Regions from separate parts of the Homo sapiens genome. Here regions 1 and 3 are each linked to region 2. Evidence: promoter capture Hi-C in human tissues and cell types (Jung and others, 2019). All regions are on one chromosome and are shown on one strand. Each heading gives the region's core, a stretch centred on a gene start or on the middle of the fragment in contact. The rest is flanking DNA. Distances are from core to core; before and after follow the strand shown.

What was found. The method cuts DNA at HindIII sites, captures the fragments that hold promoters and counts their contacts. A contact is called where the count stands out against the background at its distance.
Region 1: a fragment that was not itself captured here is called in contact with the fragment with the promoter of AKAP8 in region 2 in 1 of the 25 tissues and cell types used here (dorsolateral prefrontal cortex).
Region 3: a contact is called between the fragment with the promoter of TPM4 here and the fragment with the promoter of AKAP8 in region 2, in 1 of the 25 tissues and cell types used here (dorsolateral prefrontal cortex).

Annotation. Positions count from the first base shown.
Region 1 is chr19:16,123,529-16,127,186 of GRCh38, reverse strand. It overlaps RAB8A (RAB8A, member RAS oncogene family), which reads right to left. Exons shown (of 8, transcript NM_005370.5): 4 at 1,640-1,717. It overlaps HSH2D-AS1 (HSH2D and RAB8A antisense RNA 1), which reads left to right. Exons shown (of 2, transcript NR_199156.1): 2 at 200-3,658. Among named protein-coding and RNA genes, the nearest start is that of RAB8A, 13 kb to the right of the region's middle. The HindIII fragment of the contact is 7,709 bases long and covers 1-3,658 here.
Region 2 is chr19:15,377,214-15,381,353 of GRCh38, reverse strand. AKAP8 (A-kinase anchoring protein 8) reads left to right here and starts at 1,567. Exons shown (of 14, transcript NM_005858.4): 1 at 1,567-1,641. The coding sequence starts at 1,623. It overlaps AKAP8L (A-kinase anchoring protein 8 like), which reads left to right. Exons shown (of 14, transcript NM_014371.4): 13 at 742-837; 14 at 924-1,304. The coding sequence ends at 1,232. RefSeq lists silencers at 942-1,431, 1,772-2,321 and enhancers at 596-1,510, 1,282-1,576, 1,511-2,426. The HindIII fragment of the contact is 19,214 bases long and covers 1-4,140 here.
Region 3 is chr19:16,074,905-16,078,720 of GRCh38, reverse strand. It overlaps TPM4 (tropomyosin 4), which reads right to left and starts at 2,226. Exons shown (of 8, transcript NM_003290.3): 1 at 2,024-2,226. The coding sequence starts at 2,155. RefSeq lists enhancers at 17-236, 1,155-1,884, 1,885-2,612, 2,613-3,342 and a silencer at 1,667-2,576. The HindIII fragment of the contact is 17,695 bases long and covers 1-3,816 here.

The sequences.
Region 1 (3,658 bases), core at 298-2,797, 750 kb before region 2:
GCAGCTTCTATGGCTGTATCAATCAAGCCCCCGCACCTGGGATGCTGGGCGGGTCTAGCCTATGGGAGGTGAGTGAGGCTGAGATATTTACCCCCCGACCTTGGCTTTCCTCCTTCCCTCCCTGGCTCCTCTGCAAGAGGCCCCAGCTGTTGTCCTGGGACCTTCTGCTTTGACACTTTTTTTTTTGTTTTTTTTTGAGATGGAGTCTCGTTCTGTCTCCCAGGCTGGAGTGTAGTGGCATGATCTCGGCTCACTGCAACCTCTGCCTTCAGGTTCAAGCGATCCTCAACCTCCCGAATAGCTGAGATTACAGGCATCTGCCACCATACCAGGCTAATTTTTTGTATTTTTAGTAGAGACAGAGTTTCGCCATGTTGGCTAGGCTGGTCTCAAACTTCTGACCTCAGGTGATCTGCCCGCCTCAGCCTCCCAAACTGCTGGGATTACAGGCATAAGCCACCTCGCCTGGCCCTGACATTTCAACTATTTTTGGGCTCCAGAAACAGGCCGTGCCTGAGGTGGTCGCAACTCGAGGCCGTCACCAGCTGCAGGCACTTCACCACCCTGTCTGATGTTGCCCAAACTCTGCCCTCATACCCAAAGGCAGCTCCTTCGTCAAGTCTCCCTGGGTCCCCATGGAGCGGACCACGCTTCCTGGAGGACGGGGACACTGGAAACTGCTGTCTTCTTCCACCAGCTCAGACTTGGTCTCTGGAACCTACTGCGCCACTCCCTGCCTCACTTCCCATGAACCAGAAGGTGGCTCCTGCCCGCTGGCCAGAAACAGAGACCTTTCACAAAGACCAGGCTCTCCTCCTCTCCACGGATGAAGACAGCTTTCCCAGCTGGGGTGCAGCCCTGCACTGGCAAATTTGGCAGCACAGCCCTCTCAGGGTCACTGGGGAGGTGAGCCCAGTGCAATGACTCACAAATGATGGGGTGGCCTCTCGGCCTGGCCTGGGAGGTCCATGAGTCCTGGGTGGACAGTGATATGCCCTTTTGCTGTGGTTTTATAGATGGGAAAAGTTCTCTGGCTGTGCCTCAGACCTGAAGCCCCACATGGTTAGTTATAGAAAGCTGCAGGTGCCGGCAGCCAGGAAGGCTTTGGGGGTGAGGTCAGCTCTTTGGGGAGCAGAAGATGAAGATGCTGGCTTTGGGAGGGGAGGAGGGGTTGGCCTACTTCTCACTGCTCTATGGTTCAAGGTCTGAACACAGGTCGTTTGTACCAGGTCACACCCTGCTCCGATATAGCTCAAAGTACAACTGACGCCTGCTCACCACACCCTCCAACTACAAGGGTCACACCTGTGCTAGACCCTTCCTTCTCTAGAAAGCACCCAACACTCATGGTGACCACAAGCTTGGATATCCTTTCTCTTATAACCATGACACTGGCCAGATCCAACAGCCTAGCTGGAGGGATGGGCTCCGAGGGGCTCCGGGGTGGGGCCAGGCCAGTGTGTGGTCCCTGGGGCCGGCTGCTTGCATCTCAGTCCCTGCTCCCACCATGTCCCTGACTAGGAGGCTGTGGGCAAGTGGCCTGTATGTGTCTCTGCACCTTGGCCTTCTCATGAGTAAACCAGAGGGCTCTGGGACAAGGACTGAAGCAGGGACAGTGGGAGGAGCCGGAGGGCCTCACCTCCTCAATGTTGCGAATCCAGTTCCGGATGTTGTCGAAGGACTTCTCGTTGGTGATGTCGTAGACCAGCATGATGCCCTGCGCGGGGAGAGAAGACACAGGTGCCTGATCGGCTGCAGGCTCTGGAAGGGAGGCCTCAGCGGCACCAGAGAACAGTGGTGGGGAGCCCAGCACCCACTGCACAGCCAGGCCCATTAGCTGCCGCCCTCCCCACCTCTGTGGAGCCCCGGAAGCCAGCCCCCTCCTCTCCATCCCTGTGGCCCTTCTTTCTGCTGGGTTCTGGCACCAGCCTTGTCCTGCCCCCCGGGCCGCTGAGGTGACCCTTCTGCCTCACAGGCCAGCCCCTGCCACGCACTCGCTGACAAGCCCGGCTGGCTCCCCTCATGGCCCACGGGGTGGTGCAGCCTGACGGTGGGAGCCGGTCCACAGGCCCACTGCCAGCAGCACTCCCCTCACGCTGACCCTCCCCTGCAATCGGCCTCCTCTTCACCCCTTGCTCACCCCACGCTCTGCCTGAGCCACCTACCAGGCACAACTGAGCCCAGGAAGTCCTGACCCGACATCCACACAACTTCCAGTGACCCCACCACAGAGGGAACCGGCTGTGTGAAGATGGAGCCGAGAGTGCCAAGGCCCTTCCAGTTCCCTAACCTAGACGTGAGCAACTGGGAGACGGCTCGTGGGTCCTGGAAGAGCTTCGGGGCAGCCCCGCCTCAGCCTGGGTCCACAGCCTCGCTACTGCTGTGGACAAGCGCAAACATGCCCATGCGATGCAAGGGGAAACTGAGGCACAGAGACGTGACCTTTAAGATTCAAGCACGGGGGGCGGGGGGGGGCTAACTCCAAAAGCACTGATGACACCTATCCTCTCAGCAATATCCCTGGGCCTTTTTCAGCCCCAGAACCCACATGTGGGGGCCACCCTCTGACGGTCTGTGTGGTTCTCGATGTCCTTGTGGAGTGCCCACAGCGGGCCAGCCTGCAGTGCCATCACAAGTCCCCCTTTGTTGCCGGGCATCCTGGGCTCCAAGGCACGTGGCCTGCTCATGGCCAGGCCTGGATTTCTTCCTTCCTCCTCGCTACCTGCTCCCCAGGCCCAGCCCTGCATCTGTGGCACCTGAGGGCACTGATGACTTCTGCTGCTGGCCAAGTTGTCTGGGGCCATCCAAGTTTGCAGAATAAGGACACGGGCCATGTGGTAATGGTGAGACAGATGTGGGTGCAAGAGTGTGGGACAAAAACGACACAGATGGGGCAAGAAAGTCACTGCAACCCCAAATCCTCCTGGGAATTCAGGGACATGAATAATGGCCTCACAGTCAGCCGCAACCATGGCGAAGAACCTCAAGGCTGCAGTGGCCCATGATGTCTGCCATGCCCCATCCACGGTGGGCACACCCTGTGACTGTGACATGGTCAGGGACAGGGGGCGTGGGGCCCTTTATCCGGGGACTGGACCCTCTGAAAGCCCAGGATTCCTGCCTTCACCACTAAGTTGGTGACATGTGCCTAAGACTCAAATTCCTGGATTATACCTATTTCAGGGAGCTGAGGGGAGAACCTGGACGTTAGTGGGGCAGTGGGTAGAGCTCTCTCTTAGAATCAAGCAGAAGCACCTGGAAAACACTGAGCCAGCCATCCTATTCCAGGTTTTCCTGGAAACACCCCTCAGGGCTCCAAGTGACTATTTTCCAGGGCCCCGTCTGGGCAAACCTCACCATGGGTCTCTAGGCATCCAATGCTTCCCAAACTTGGGATTTTGAGGCCCAAGGGTCTATGAGCATGCTGACAGAGATGAGGACACAGCTGCAATGGTGGTGCTGTCCCATATGACTGATACTGGCTACACAAGGCTCTAGGGCATCAGAAACATAGCTGCTTTGACCCAAGGAGCTGGATTTTCAATGTTTTTTAAAATTAATTAATTAATTAAGTAGTTAAGCGACGGATACTTGCTCTGCTGCCCAGACTGGAGTGCAGTGGTGCAACCTCGGCTCACCGCAACCTCCGGCTCCCAGG
Region 2 (4,140 bases), core at 318-2,817:
AGCCCGATTTGAAGGGCTGCATGATGTTCTTTTGAATGTACGATTTATTTAACCTCTTCTGCACTGAGGAACGTTTAGGTGTTTTCCCATTTTTCACCACTACAATCAGTGTGCACGCATGTTTCCAGTTCTTAAATTTAGGATACGTTCTGGGAAGGGATTAATGAGACAGATTTTTACTTTTCATACATTGTGTCAAACTGCTTTCCAAAAAATACGGAAACAGTTGATCCTCCCACCAGCAGAGAAGACTCTCTTCACCCTTGCATGACTGGGAATAATTCTTCATTCTTGGAATTCTGTGGGTTAAAAAAGACGTTTCATTAAATATCTGTTCCTGTTTTTATATCTTCCCCGTTGGCCCCAAAGTGCTCCTTGCCTATTAGCCTAGTTGGCACCTTGTTACAGGTTGCACCCACCTTTGGCTCTTAGTTTCTTAATTGTTCACTGCTTATAGCTTTTTTGTAAGCAAATCAGATTTCTGTAATACAGCCGTAAAGTTAGAGATATATAGATCTGTATTTTTATTTACCTACAGTAAGTGTGGTGTGGAAGGAGAGGGAATTTGAACAAAGATCAGATAGGTTGTGGTTCCATGCTTGTGGAGTGGCCCTCCGTTGGTGGGGCTGGAAGTGCGTGGGTGCAGGGGCGGGGTGGGGTCCCTCTAAGCTGGCAGGGTCGGGGCAGCAACTTGTAGGGCACTCAGAGCAGCCTCTCCAGCTCCTTCTGCCCTGCCCGCAGCTCATGATGGAGCAGTCCAAGAAGTCCTCCCTCATGGTGGCCCGCAGTATTCTCAACAACAAGCTCATCAGCAAGAAGCTGGAGCGCTACCTGAAGGTGAGGCACTGGTCCGGGCCTGCCCTGTCCCCAGCTTAGTCCCCGCCTGTGCTCCCTCCCTTCAGTGTCCGCGCCCCTCCCCACAGGGCGAGAACCCTTTCACCGACAGCCCCGAGGAGGAGAAGGAGCAGGAGGAGGCTGAGGGCGGTGCCCTGGACGAGGGGGCGCAGGGCGAAGCGGCAGGGATCTCGGAGGGCGCAGAGGGCGTGCCGGCGCAGCCTCCCGTGCCCCCAGAGCCAGCCCCCGGGGCCGTGTCGCCGCCACCGCCGCCGCCCCCAGAGGAGGAGGAGGAGGGCGCCGTGCCCTTGCTGGGAGGGGCGCTGCAACGCCAGATCCGCGGCATCCCGGGCCTCGACGTGGAGGACGACGAGGAGGGCGGCGGGGGCGCCCCGTGACCCGAGCTCGGGGCGGGCGGAGCCCGCGTGGCCGAAGCTGGAAACCAAACCTAATAAAGTTTTCCCATCCCACCTCCGGGTTTCTCTGTTACTGTGCCGCGCGGGCGGGGCGGGGTGGGCAGAGGGGCGGGGTGCGCATGCGCGCGGGCCGGGCCGTCGGGCACCGCGGTGGGACCACAACTCCCATTAGGCCACGGAGCTGGATCGTAGCAGCCCGAAAGGCCAGCTGGGACGGCGAGGGCGGGCCCTCGTGAAGACCAGCCAATGGGGGCGCGCGGAAGTAGTGACGTGTGCGCCTGGTCTTCCAGTAGTCGATGGCGGAGGTGCGCTGAACGCATGCGTGCTGTGGTCGCCTAGTAAACGGGGCTGCTGGTGGGCCGCGTCGAAGACATGGACCAGGGCTACGGAGGTTTGTGTTGGCTGCTGGGTGCGGAGCGGGGAGGGAAGGCTCTGTGCGGGCGACGCAGCCGCTGCGCAGACTGCCGCCGGCCGGGCCTTCGTCCCGAGCGTGGTTGCCCCAGCTGGGCCCTCCGGAGAGGCGGCCAGGGCGCGCGCGCGCCGCTCATTGGGCTTTGGCGCCGTCGCTCCCGGGGCTCTGCGTGCGGATTGGCCGCCAGGCCCCGAGGAGGCGGGCGGGACTCGGGGTTGGGGCAGACGCCGCGGTGGGCTTCGTGGGGGCGTCTTAGACAGTGTGGGCCGTTTTTGCCCCTCACCTTCGGCGGAGTCCTTCCGGCCCCCAGCGACCCCGGGGTTTGCACTCCCGGCTTCCTCTTCCGAAGACGCCACAAAATGGCGGCGCTAGGGGGGCGGAGCTACAGCGTGGGGTTGTGAGGTCGGACCCGGGGAGCTGGGTCTGGGGCCGCGGGCGGACCGCGGGGGCCGCCTCTCTCCCGACCTGCCCTAGGCCCGCGGGGCCGTGTAGGGTCTCCGCTGGGCTCACGTGGCCCAGGGCGCCTGTCCCGGAAGCCGTCGGGCTGCGCGGGGTCGGGCCTTTAGTCCCCGGTGCAGCGCGGTGGGGCCGAGTGCTGCCGGCGCGAGAGTCAGCCTCGCCGGGCTCCAGCTCTGTACCCGGCGCGTGCTGGCTTGGGACAGGATGGTGAGGGGCAGATGCTGAGTGTTCGTATAAAGCTGGAAACCTGATGTGCCCTGGGGCTGGTGACATTGGCAGTTCTCCTTTAGGCAGTCTGTTGTGGTGGCCTGGAGGGGCCGAGGGGCTGTGCAGGAGGGAACGTGTCCTTTCCCCACTAGGATTTAGCGCTTGGCCTGCAGTAGGGCCGATCTTCTCGAGCTGCCTGCTCCCTGCTTCTGGAATCAGAGCCTTTTGGGAGCAAAGTTTGCCCACAGGGGATAGTTGGGACATGCTGGGTGGAGCTCGACTGGTTGTAGAGAAGCTAGTGGTCTGATCCTGGCTGCAGGAGCTCGAGAAGTTGTCGATCTTGAGAAGTGGCAGGGCAAAAGTATCCCAGCACCAGAAATTGCAGAGAGAGGTTTCGGTCCTGAGGCGGCAGCGTGCGCGGTGTGCTTTGGTGTCTTCCGGGTCCTAGCGAAGGCTCAGCCTGGCTCTCCTGGTCTTCCGCAGCCTGGGTAGATTTCACCATTCTTTCCCTTCTTTCCCATCAGATCTTTTCTGCAGGTATTGTATTCCTTCTTTTCATTCTTAGTTTGGAGAGGTTTTTTTTACCCCCTCTTCCTACCTGCCGAAAACCTTTCAGACACACTGGAGATAGTTAAGCTTCCCTGATTTCTTGTGTTTCCGGGAGCGTTTTAAGGTTAATAGTGCGTGCCACTTACACTAGAGCTTCACAGAGAAGCAGTCTCTCGAGGTTGGTTACTTGCTGTTGGAATCTGCAGTCTGCCTTTCTGCTGCACGGATGCGAATTTAGAAGGTTTTGCGGTATGACGGAGGGGAAGGCGTAGCATAGCAGAGGGCAAAACTCAGCAGTATGACTGGGTCAAGTCTCGTAACCCATGAGCCTAGCTCCCTTGTCTCTGAATGGCATTCCGGACAACAGGGTTTGCTGGGTGCTTGCGGTGTATCGGCACGCACTAGGCACTTAGCCGGGGGCGGGGGAGTTGTTCTGGTGAGGGAGACATGGATATGTTCCTGCCTCATCAAAGTGAAGTCATTTAACAGGCATGGTGGCCACCCGCGCGCAGCTCAGTGCTGGGCCCCAGGGACACAGAAATAAAGAGAACACAGTTCCCATTCTCCTTCCTGGAGGGACCAGACAGATGCCATAGTGGGCGGGGGGTGTGGAGGGGTGAAGAGTGCTGTCTGATGCCTTAGGGCCAGGCGAAGGCTCTGGGACTTAAAGGTCCAGGGGATCCGTGGAGGCCTTAAAAGTGGCAGGAAGGGCCTGGCGCGGTGACTCACGCCTGTAATCCCAGCACTTTGGGAGGCCGAGGCTGGCGGATCACGAGGTCAGGAGATCGAGACCATCCTGGCTAACATGGTGAAACCCCGTCTCTACTAAAAACACAAAAAATTAGGCGGGCGTGGTGGCAGGCGCCTGTAGTCCCAGCTACTCGGGAGGCTGAGGCAGGAGAATGGCGTGAACCCAGGAGGCGGAGCTTGCAGTGAGCCGAGATCGCGGCACTGCGCTCTAACCTGGGCAACAGAGCAAGACCCCGCCTCAAAAAAACAAAAAGTGGCAGGAAGTGCAGCTTAGAAAGATGCAATTTATGTCACTAAATTCCCATGCTTGTTTTCAGTTACGAAGTACTTGTGATGGCACTCTGAACTGGTTTCCTAGCTGTGTGGTGGGTGGGGGAACGTGTCCTCATGCTGAGTGGATTGTCTTGTGTTAGCCTCAGTTGTGGATGAAATCTTGGAGAGGTGAGGTCCTTGGCCAAGGTCCCTCTGCAGGGCGGAGCTGACTTCCAAGCCCACTTCCCACCCTTCTTTTTC
Region 3 (3,816 bases), core at 977-3,476, 700 kb before region 2:
CTTCAACTCTCCAAAAACATCTTCTCTCCCAACTAGACGGTCTTGCTCCTAAATCTTGGCTCCAGGCTGAGGGCCATTTTGAAGCCGAGTTAATTGTCCTCCAGCGAGATGACTTGGGATGAGATCAGAGCAAGAGCTGTGTCGGTTAAGTGTGAGAAAGAGGCCAGACCGGCTACCGATTGAGGCTTACACCGGGTTTCTAAGGCCTCTTGGGCCAAAGCAGCCCTTACAGGATTAGAGGCTTCAACCAAGGCCCATGCTGCAGCCCCCATCTGGGCTCTTTCCAGTCCTGGCAATTCACACCACCAATTCCATCTGGCTGGGCATCTTTTGCCTCTCTAGGGTCCCCACCCTGAGCCTCAACACTGAACTTTCAGGGCTTTTGGGCTTCAACCTCTATCCGCACACCCCCCCACCCTCATCATACAACTTTCTTGCCTCTGAGTCTGTGCACACCCATGTCTCTGGTCCCAGCAAACTTATTTATTCTATAAGACCCAGCTCAACCTCCATTTTGGAGCCTCCCCTGTCATGCTCCCATAACTGCACAGAAAACCCGTGGAATGCAGACCTCGCTCCATCAGTGAGTCAGCTCCCCTGCCTCCATTTGTCTATGAGCTCTTCCCAGGGCAGAGAAAACACAATTGAGGCTGGGCGCCGTGGCTCACGCTTGTAATCCCAGAACTTTGGGAGGCCAAGGTGGGCAGATCACGAGGTCAGGAGTTCGAGACCAGCCTGGCCAGCATGGTGAGACACTGTCTCTACTAAAAATCCAAAATAAAAAAAAAAAAATTAGCTGGGCGTGGTGGCGGGCACCTGTAATCCCAGCTACTCGGGAGGCTGAAGCAGGAGAATCTCTTGAACTCGGGGGGTGGAGGTTGCAGCGAGCCGAGATCGCACCACTGCACTCCAGCCTGGGCGACAGAGTGAGACTGCCTCAAAAACAAAACAACAAAAAACAACAACACAATTGATTATTTACAAAGCGCCAGGCTCCACGCCTGAGATTTACTCCTGGGACCCTCCCTGCTACTCTGGGGGGTCGGGATTCTTATCAGTCCTACTCGCAGATGGGAAAAAAGCTCCTAGAGAGCAAATACCAAGTCATGAAGCCTGTGGGTGGCATGATATGGGACCAGAATCCAAATCTGTCCCCAGACCCTGGCGGTGCCACCATCTGTCCCGAGGGACAGCCAGGAGGATGATGCAGAGAGGATGGTGAAACTCCCTCCTTTTTCAGACCCATTGTTTATCTCGGGCCCTGCGACTCGCGGCGGAGGCGCACAGCAGGCGCTCAAACGATCGTGGGTTCAGGGCCCCGCGCCAGCGTTCCCGGGGCCTTCTGGAGAGAGGCAGGGTCCCGCCGCCCCGGTTCCCGCAGGAATCAGCTGGAGAAAGGCGGGCGGCTTGGGGCTGAACTTCCTCCACCCCCCATCCCCCCCGCCGCCTGGAGCAGACACGTCGCCGCCGCGCCCCTGGGAACGGTCAGGGAAGCAAGCAGAAGCCGGGAAGCCGCGAAAGAGGCGAGAAAGTGCGACCCCCTCCCCAGATCCCCGGTCCCCCGTCGAAATCCCTGTCGGCCGGTCAAACCCTAGACAATGGAAGCTCCACGTTTTCATCCTCATTCTCCCCCACAAGTCCGGTCGCGGGTTCCCCTCGGCCCGGGACCCCGGCGCCAGCCCCGGAGTCGGAGCCTGCACGATACGCCCCCTCCCGCCGCTCCACTTCTCCACCCGGAGATCGCTCACCCCCTCCGCCCCATCCCCCCATTTCCCGCTTGGCCGGCCCCGCCCGACCCGGAGGCGGCGCCCCCTCCCCTGTCCCAGGCCCAGGAAGGAGGACGGCGGAGGAAGTAGGGGGTCCTGGCTGCGGGCGCAGGGATGTGGGTCGGCGATCGGCGTCCGAGGGCGTAAAAAGGCGGCCCGAGGACTGCGCGCGGGCGGGCAGCGCGGGAAGCCGGGAAGAAAGGAGGGCGCGCGGGGGAGGAGGCTGCGGGTGCGGGGCCCGAGGCCGGGGCGCTCACTTTCTCGCGCCGCTCGCGCTCGCCGTCCAGCTCCCGCTGCAGGCCCTGCGCGCGGTCTTCCGCCTCGTCCGCCTGCTGCTGCAGGGCCTGGATCTTGCGTTTCACCGCCTCCAGGGAGTTGAGGCCGGCCATGGCGCGGAGGCGCAGAGGCGCACGGGCAGCGGCGGACGCTCGGCTGGGCTCGGCTCCGGCGAGAGCTGCACAGCCGCGCCCCGGCCCCCCAAGCCTTTGCCTGCGCGGGGGCCGCCCCCGCCTCTCCCCGCCCCCCGGGCCGGCTGCCGTCGGGGCGATGAGGTCACCCGGCCGGACCGCCGACGTCAGCACCGCTGGGGGAGGGCCTGACGTCGGCACCGCTGGCCACAGCTGCTGGAAAGTGCCCCTTTTCGGGACTTATTTGGAGAAAGCGCTGGGAGGCGCCGCCTTCTCCTCCTCCTCTTCCTCCTCCCCCTGCGGCTCTCCCCGCCTTCCCGGCCCCGGGGCTCCGGCCTGGCCCCGCCGCGGGCTCCCGCATCCCTGCACACGTACGTCGGAGGCCTTCTTCTCCGTGAGCTCCAGCTTCTCCTGCGCGTCCTTCAGGTCCTCGGAATATTTATCCAGCTCGTCCTCTGTCCCTTTTAGTTTCTTCTGGAGGTGCGTCAGCTCCTCCTCCACCTGGGGACGACAGAGCGAGGAACGGGTCAGCCTGGGGGGGGGGTCACGTCCCCGAGGTGCAGGGGCGGTCCCCCCCAATATTCACAAGAGTCCTCCGTCTCTCTCTGGGCATCAGTTTCCTTATCTGTAGAACAGGGGTTGCGATAGCATGCACCACGCCATCCATGCTACCTGATAGTGGGATTTTCACATCTTTCCCTCGTCCTGAGGACCAGCTGTTTTGGGCTTATTGGGGTCCCCAGTACTCTAGGGAGATCAATGGCAGCTTTTGGGAAACTGAAGACTCCAAATGTTTTCCAGAAATACACACATTCCAGTTTCAGAGGTGCAGCCTCACCATGATCTGGAGTTAAGCAATCTCATTCTCTGCGCGTGGATCCCTCCGCCCATCCCTGTCCCCAGCCTTTCTCCCTCTGGTTCTGACCCCAACACGGGGTCAGAGAAACTTTCTAACAAATACGCCTGCCCTCTTTCTGCCTAGAACCTGCTATGGCTCCCTATGGCCCAAGGCAGTGGTTCTTAGACTGTCTTACCAAAATACTCTGAAGGGCTGAAGGGCTCAGACCTAGTCCCTCATTTCTGGGCTTTGGGGAGCTTGGCTAGAAGAGACTCGCCCCTACAGGATCACTTTCTTTGAAGGCTCGGGTTAAATCTTTAAAATTTTTGCATATAGGCCATGTTCATTTTAATAAAAATGTCCCCTACTTTCCCTAAATTTTCAGTCCTCTGTTTATCCCAAGAGTCCTATCCTCCCATCACTCCTAGTTTGAGAAGCTCAGGCCTATGGATTACAAACCACAGACCCCATCACCTCTCTTTGTCACCCCCCACCACACCGGTCTAGAGTTGGCTCAAGAAGACTTTTCTGTCACCTCCAGGCTGAAACTCCCTCCCTGGGCCCCCAACTCTGGATTAGGGTGATCATATCCAGCTCATGCCTGGATCTGACTTTTTTTTTTGAGAGTCTCGCTCTGTCACCAAGGCTGGAGTGCAGTGGCACGATCTCAGCTCACTGCAACCTCCGCCTCCTGGGTTCAAGTGATTCTCCTGCCTCAACCTCCCCGGTAGCTGGTACTACAGGTGCACACCACCACGACTGACTAATTTTTGTATTTTCAGTAGAGACAGGGTTTTGCAATATT